Regions from separate parts of the Homo sapiens genome. Here region 1 is linked to region 2. The links are contacts of gene promoters, found by promoter capture Hi-C in blood cells and fetal thymus (Javierre and others, 2016). All regions are on one chromosome and are shown on one strand. Each heading gives the region's core, a stretch centred on a gene start or on the middle of the fragment in contact. The rest is flanking DNA. Distances are from core to core; before and after follow the strand shown.

Evidence for each region. Contacts are between HindIII fragments. The CHiCAGO score rates a contact against its expected background, and 5 or more counts as called.
Region 1: a contact is called between a fragment that was not itself captured here and the fragment with the promoter of HCFC1-AS1 in region 2, in 2 of 17 cell types (activated CD4 T cells and total CD8 T cells). The highest score is 6.2, in activated CD4 T cells.

The regions. Positions count from the first base shown.
Region 1 is chrX:154,717,247-154,721,233 of GRCh38, forward strand. The region is part of intron 1 of GAB3 (GRB2 associated binding protein 3); the gene reads right to left. Among named protein-coding and RNA genes, the nearest start is that of GAB3, 32 kb to the right of the region's middle. RefSeq lists an enhancer at 2,108-2,402. The HindIII fragment of the contact is 1,115 bases long and covers 1,489-2,603 here.
Region 2 is chrX:153,966,509-153,970,395 of GRCh38, forward strand. HCFC1-AS1 (HCFC1 antisense RNA 1) reads left to right here and starts at 2,257. Exons shown (of 3, transcript NR_046608.3): 1 at 2,257-2,562; 2 at 2,691-2,863; 3 at 3,277-3,583. The region is part of intron 1 of HCFC1 (host cell factor C1); the gene reads right to left. RefSeq lists enhancers at 1-490, 3,681-3,887 and a silencer at 2,716-2,894. The HindIII fragment of the contact is 6,911 bases long and covers 1,767-3,887 here.

The DNA of each region.
Region 1 (3,987 bases), core at 796-3,295, 750 kb after region 2:
TTTTTTAAAGATGGGAGACTCTTAAGCATTCACCCCCTAAGTCACAGTGTTTTTCAACCAGGGATGGTATAATTCCTCTCGGGAGCATCTGAAAATATGTGGGTTTTGCTTGTTATAAAGGCTGGAGATGGAGTGGGGGGTGGGGCATGGCAGGATTGGCCTAAAGCTATCAGTGCCCCTGTTTTGAAACACTGTAAAAACAAAAAGGAATTTTCCTTAATGGAATAGGAATCTTGGAAAGAGCCAAGCCTGGAAGTCAGATGAACAGGTAAAGCTCAGTCCATGCTCAGAAAAGAAAAGAGAATGATATTCCACAGAAACCAGTGCCAAGATTTGACAGGTCTCTTTTTGTGCCCTGAGAACAACTGAGAATGACCTAGGGCTCCTTGGCTTCCCACTCACCATTGACTTAGAATTTTTGATGTAGACAGTACCATCTTGGCTCAGTACAAAGAAAGGGTGCAGATCTCTGGCCTGGGGAAAGAGGTATTTACAATTGACCAAAGCCCTAGGGAGTCCCCTGGATCTGTAAACCTCCCTGCCCTCTCATGGAGCCAGGGGGAAGGAAATGTTTGAGTTCCTTGTCTTACATTTAGGTGCCCTTTGTTCATCGAAGGGCCAGATAGGCCAGCCTGCATGGATAGCGTATCCTTACTTTCTGCGGTAGGGAACTATGGCATTAGCCCCAGTTGGGAATTGAGCACAGAGAAGGATGACGGCTGACCGCAGGGAGATTTATAGCTCTGTGGTTTTTCTCTCCCATGCGGTAGCATGTGTGACAGCAGGAAGTGTGGGGTTCTGCCAGGAGGTACAGCGACCCCTGGGACAGGAAGTCTTTTGTATCTCTAGCTTCATTTATGTGTGATACTTTTTAAGCCCACCAGCTTTGACCAAGAGGCCAGGGAAAAAGGAAAAGACACTATTTGGAGTATTCTCAGCTCCCTCCCTGCTCAGAGAACATGAATCTGAGATGGCAGAGAATCCAAAGAAGCACTGACCTCCAATTATGCCTTAGAATAAAAAGCCCTTCCAGGACTGAGGCAAGGGGCAGCAAGCAGAAGGAAGGCAGTCACTCCATGTCAGGTTGGGGCAGGTGAACCCTGGTTTGCTCCTGCCTTTACAGACAGTATAAAGCTTTGAAAAGAGGTCTGGCCATGAGTCAAACAAGGAGACCATCTCAGGAGACAAACAACGTGGTGTGATTAAGTCCATGTTTTTAAGACAGGAAAAATAACAGCATGTTTGTATGCTCGTGGGGGTGACCCAAGAGGGAGAGAAAAATTGATTCAGTAAATTCCTGTTGCAAAAACGTGGCACTGGATGGGAGTAGAGCCACTAAACATAAGAGAAGGAGCTCAAGTTTTGCTGTGGGGTTTGAAAGTGGGAAACCTGGGCTTCTGGCATCAACTGAGGCAAACAGGAACATAAGGCCTAGTCCAGGGAAGGGGCTCAGGGGATGAGAGAATGCCATTTGTGCCTGCTGAGGAAAGCTTTCATGGGGAGGGAGCATGGGGTGCTCCAAACTTTCCAAAAGCCACTTTGGTGGGGGAAATGTAAAGAGGAACTTTGTTGCACTTCCCAAAAATGATTCTAAAAGAGGAAGTCAAACTAAGCACAGAAACAAGTTTCACATTAACCGCTCTTAGTGTTATGGAGACAATAGATTTCTTATCTTTTAATAACAATATTGGAAGAGAAGTAACACCAAGAGTTTATTTGAGTGCCTACTCTGCACTGTGCATCCTGCTAGACAATGAAGCTAGAAAAGGGGATTAGAGCTGGTCCCTAAAAGACCTCACTCTCTAGCTGGGATAGGGAGAAGGGTAGAATTATGATATGGGTAGATTTCAACTCAGCGTAGTGAGCGGTCTAGCAGAAGAATGAACCAGGAGTGGTGGGAGTGCAATGGGAAGAGTGACATGAAGAAGTTTGGGCTTTATCCATTCATTCAACAATTACCTGTTGATAGCCCACTAATATGCTGGACACTGTGCAGATACTGGGGAAGATGAAGTGAGCAAGCCACATGCCCTGCCACTCACAGTCTCATGGGCAACAAGGGAGTGAGCAGATGGATAAACAGACGATTGCAATCAGTGAGATAAGTGCTACGATAAGGCAAAACCAAGATGCTATGGGAACAAACAAAAGAGACATCTCTCTCAGATCAGTTGTCTGGGGAGGCTTCCAGGAAGAAGTGGTGACTAAGCTAAGGCTAAAGTGGGGCAGGAGGAAGCAGCGTGCACAAAGGCATTAAGGTGGAAAGGCTCAAAACTTTGCGTAAGTAGTTCAGCAGGGCTGGAAGGCAGGCATGAGGGTGGAAAGGAAAAAGAACAGTCACACAGTAACTTAAATAGGACGTAGCATAGTCTTGATGCTGAATCATGCAAAATCGCCAGTGTGTCATCCCTTAGGTTTTTAAATCTCTACATAAGAGTTTTGATTATGCAAAAACAGAAGTGAGGTGTTCTTGGAGCTCTTTGCTAAGTAGGTAAAACCAGAGGCCACATATAGTTCTGTTCCACCAGGCTTACAGGCTTCTGGAAAATGGAAGACATGTGACAAAGCCCCTGAAAGCAGTCAGTCTGCCAGCACTAAAGTGAAGCTTTTTACAGTGAAACAATGCCACAAGGAATGACGAGGGCCATGTCAAAAGGACTTAGGGGCTAACCTGAAGAGGCTACCACTGGCCATATATGAAAGAATTTTTGCTTTCATAAATAGTCATATGCTGCATGACATAATAGTAACAATGAACCAAATATACAATGGTGGTCCTATAAGATTTTTTTTCAATCCTCCGAGACATCTGAATCCCAAAAGATTTAATACCATATTTTTATTGTACCTTTTCTATGTTTAGATACACAAATACCTACCATTGTGTTACAATTGCCTACAGTATTCAATATAGTACCATACTGTACAGGTTTGTAGCCCAGAAGCAACAGGCTATAACATATAGCCTAGGTGTGTAGTAAGCTAGGTTTGTGTAAGTACACCCTGTGATGTTTGCAAAGTGACTAAATCACCTAATGACACATTTCTCAGAACATATGCCCGTCATTGAATGATGCATGATTGTGTAATAATTATAGTAGCTTGAAATCCATCAAATACACTTAAATCCATGAGTTCATTATGATATTAGAAAAATAATTTGTCGTCAGGAGATCGAGACCATCCTGGCTAACACAGTGAAACCCCGTCTCTAATAAAAATACAAAAAATTAGCCGGGCGAGGTAGTGGGCGCCTGTAGTCCCAGCTACTCGGGAGGCTGAGGCAGGAGAATGGCGTGAACCCCGGGGGGCGGAGCCTGCAGTGAGCCGAGATCGCGCCACTGCACTCCAGCCTGGGCGACAGAGCGAGACTCCGTCTCAAAAAAAAAAAAAAAAAAAAAAAGCAAAAGAATTTGTCATCTTCAGAGGATGTAAGGGAACTACTTCATTTCCTTGAAAACTACTTAAGTAAAAGGGAAGAATCAAGCATTATCCAACCTTTCCTCTACGTGAACTGTCCCACTTGGGTAGATGAAGGGAATGTCTCTTTATGAATGTATTCTGATCAGTAATGGAAAAACAAATGACAGAATTAGAATATCCCTATTTGCTAGCCCCAGTGAATTAATAGGTATAGCCATTAAGCATCAACAGCTGCTAACTTGGGAAAAGAAACAATCAGACATTTTGTGCCTCTGATAGCCTGATATGAGGGTGCAATCAGCAGAAGCCAGCCTGTAGAAAACTCTACAGGTCAAAAGCCCAGGTTCTTCAATGGATAGGTTATAAGAAAAAGAAAAGCACAGGAAAGGAAGCAATCAATAAAATGAAAAGGCAACCTATGTACTGGGAAAAAATGTTTGCAAACTACATTAAGGGGTTAATATTCAAAATTTACAAAGAACTCTTACAAGTCAATTGCGGAAAAAGAAACAAAAAATGGGTGAAGGATCTGAACAGACATTTCTCCAATGAAGACATAAAAAT
Region 2 (3,887 bases), core at 1,007-3,506:
CCAGAAAAGCAAGAGCTGCCAAGGCCAACAGCCTTGCGCACTGGAGAGCCGTCCTGACCAATCCCTGGAGGGAGCTCCATGCAAGCTACCAGGGTAAACGCATAACGAGACCTAAGGCTGCCTGGGCCAACTGCTCTCGGTAGGTAAAGGGGCAGAGCCCAGGAGGGCAAGCGACACCTGAGGTCACAGCGTAAAACAGAGACAGAGACAACAGCCCCATCACTGACTTGAAGCAACCGATCTGTGCCTTCCCTAGGGTCCCATGTCCAGGCAGCCACCCTCACTCCCCTGAGCACCCTCGTGGTCAAAGCCCACAGCTATGGGGCTGCGGGTCAGAGTTTGGGACAAAGCTAAATGGCACGTGGGGTCAGTGGGCAGCTTTCCTATCACACGCTGATCAGTGAGCCGGTGGGCCAGGCCAGAAGCGCCCTGTGATATCTTTGGGGATCCCGCTCACCAGATCCTTCTACAGGACCCAAGAGGTGCTGATCTCATTCTAGAACACTCCAGGCAGGGCAGGGGCCCTCCCCACCCCCGTCAAGAGAGGTCTGTCAGGGAGCACAGCTCCTGGTGTGACGACAAACCTGCGGCTCCTCATCTCACCCACGAGTCCTGGTTCCGCCCCCTGAAAGCACACGAGCAAGCTCTCCTCCCTTCTCCCAGCTTTTCAATGTGACAGCTGCTCTCAGTCACCCCTGAATCATCTGGGGGGTGTCATGTAACCCAATCCTTGGGCCCCTCATCCTGGAAATGCTGGCTCTCAGCTGGGAGGGGAAGGTGGGGAAAGGACCCTGCACTAGATGAAGACCACTCCAGCTCCCCTCTCCTGAGCAAGGCTGTGCCCCGGCCTCTCTGTGTTTCATCAGCTCCCCCAACCACTTCATGCTCTGCAAGCTCCATCCCTGGTTGCCACTGTCCCATCACCACCTAGAGACTGGTGCCCATGCAGTGAGGTGGCCGGTCAAGTTCAACGAGCTGCCTTCCTCTCTGTTCTACCTGTCACATTAGAGCATTTCCTGTGTGGCATACGACGTGCTGGGAGGCACAGAGGACACCGATCTTGTGCTCATACTCCCAATGGGGTAGGAAGGCTGCATGCCCCCCTCCCACGATGAGACAAACACCCTAGAAGAGCTCTGACCAAGCCGGGCCCTTGGGAGCACAGAGCAGTGCGACTGCTGGAGAGGGGAGGACAGGAGTGGAAAGGGCTTCTCAGAAGAGGTGACGTTTCAGCCGGGCCTTGAAGGGTGAACAGGATTTCCCGACAAATGAAACTAGCAGGGCCAATCAGGAAGTGACTGCAAGAGTCTAGTAAGAGGAGAGGAGGGCTTGGTGTGGAAGGGGACACATTTGATGCCTGCCCAACGCAATGAACAATTAGATACAGGGACAGAGGAGAGAATGGAGGCATTTCAAAGGTGATGGGCCCCAAAGACAGGTGGCAGAACGGCCTCTATGAAGGTTTGCACTCCCGCCCAACTCCGCCACCAGCTGGGAGGGCGACCCTGGACCTGTCACTTCCCCTCTTGGACCCCAATTTCCTCATCTGCAGAAACAAGGAAGTAGTTCCACTAGGTATTTTCCAAGGCTCCCTCCAGCTCCAAGAACCTATGGACATTACAGAGCCACCGTAGCCAAAGCTCTCGCTCCCCCACCCCCCACACCTGGCAGCACTCTGAATCCTTTGGCTTGCCACATGGAACTAAAATTCCCTAAGGACAAGCACAGTAGCTACCCTAAGAGCTCTCAAAGCACACACCCCCTGAAGCTTTCTTATCCTAGCAACGGGAACCCCTTCCAGATCAGCTCTCTCCAAAGGTACAAGGCTTTTTGAGGACTGATCCCGCAGAACTGCAAGGGGCACAGGCGTGAGAATATGCCCTGATCTCATCCCAAACACAACAAAAGAAGACAAGACAAAGGTGACGAGGCCGGGCTGGCGGGAGGGGGCAGAAACCCCGGTGAGGAAGAGGGCTTCAGGTCTGCCAGCTGCTCTCTCGTCTGAGGAATTGCCGATGACAGTTTCCAAACTGCTACCCTGGAGGATCCCAGAGCTTCATTTTAAGCAGCCCTTTGGAAGGCAGGCTACCCCTCTAATGCACAACCTGTCTTTGCAGACTGGTAATGAATTCATGCCAAAGTGGTCAATTCATTTTAATAAACTAATGAATATGCAGAGGCCCCAGGAAGCCAAGGCAGCAGTGGTGGTGGACTCTGGAGCCGACTGTAATTAGGCCCCTGCCCTACTTTCTAAAATTGCATTTCCCTGCCAGGGAGCCTGCTCCAGGCCTTATGAGAAGAAAGTCGGTCCACAGAGTGGAGAAGGTGCTGCTCATGGTGACGGTGCCTCTATAAACAGCCCCACCACTGGAGAAGCCTTAGCTTACTGAGCTAATTCCTGCTACTGCAGCTGCCTGGGCTGGCGCGGGGCACCACCAACCACCAAGCGCCCCCGCCCGGGGGCTGCTGAGAAAGGCCCTGCTCCCTGGAGGCAACAGGTGCTGAGAGACCTGGAACGAAAAACGGTCACAGACAACCCACCAGCCTTTCAAAGTCAACGTGGTAGGTGGCGATAATCTCCGAGATGTGGAGAAACCAGCACTTTCTGCCTTGGGGGGTGGGGAAGGAAGCGGCACCCAAGAGCCCAGCTCCAGCCTTCCCAACTCCCTAAACCAACTTTCTCCCTCCAGGCAGCTCCAGCTTCCCACCCCCAGAGCATCGAGGCACTGGAGCTCAGCCAAAGAACAGCAGCCTCTCACCGCTCAGGACACAAAGCCCACTCAGCGAGGGTTTGTCTGCAGGGCCACCACCGAGGCCAGGGGATCGCTAGAGCCCCCAGGAGAGAACGGCCGCGGAGCAAGGGGTTAGTGCTGGGAGCCGTGCCTGCCACTCAGGACTAGGGCATCCCAAGGCCCTCCCCCAGCCGCCTGCAGGGGGCTTTTCCCTCACCCAGACTCTTCCAGCTCTTGCCTGGGACCGAACTCACCCTGACCCTGCCTTCTGGGCAAGGCCAGGGTCCTGTGGGCCAACGGGCAGTCAGTAGGCAACTTGGGAACTGACCCTTGTGCTAGGGGCACAAAACGGGCCAAGTAGCCACCAAGAAAAAGGATGCCACAAAGCTGTCGTGGACAGCAGCAGGCTTTCTGCCCTAGAGACTAAGCAAGGCTACTAGGCAGAGGCAACAACAAACGGCCCCCACGAAGGCCGTGGTGCATCAGCCATACCTGAAGAGAGAGGTTCCTCCCCTTCCCAACTAACGGGCTTTGGGTTTTGCAGGGAGGCAGAAGAGCGGGTGGGGTAACCCCCTGGATCCGCAGAAGCGGGGAGACACACGACTACGCAGGCCGCTGAGGGGTAACTGGAATTCAGCTTGTAAACCAGAAGGCACCAGATTAGGAGAAGGGGCGACTTGGAAAGAAATGCTGCAGAAGTAAACGTGGAAAGGGAGAGGCGGCCCTGCCGCCGGCCCGTCCTAGGGGTCCCCAAGGCTCCGGCATTACCCGGGTCGGCGGATGTTAAACTCTGCGTCCTAAGAGCGCTTCCCTTCCCTCCCTTTTTCGAGAGACAGAGAACGAATCTGTAATCTAGAAATGGTCATTTCTCCAGAATGGGCACTCGAGATGAGGGAGAGCTGAGCAGGCGCAGGAGAAGGGAGGGAGGGAGGGAGGGGAGCTCTGCCTGCGCCAAGGGGACACATCCGCCCGCCCCAGCCCCAGCCCCAGCCCGCTGGGTAACGGTGTGGGTCTGAAGTCACCACCGCTGGCGACAGCCCCTCTCCCTCACCAGTCGGACTAGGGGCTTTCTTTTAACTAACGAAAACCAATCCTCAAACACGGGAGAGACAAGGGAACGGGGAGAAGATCAGAGAAAAGCACTGAAGCCCGGCA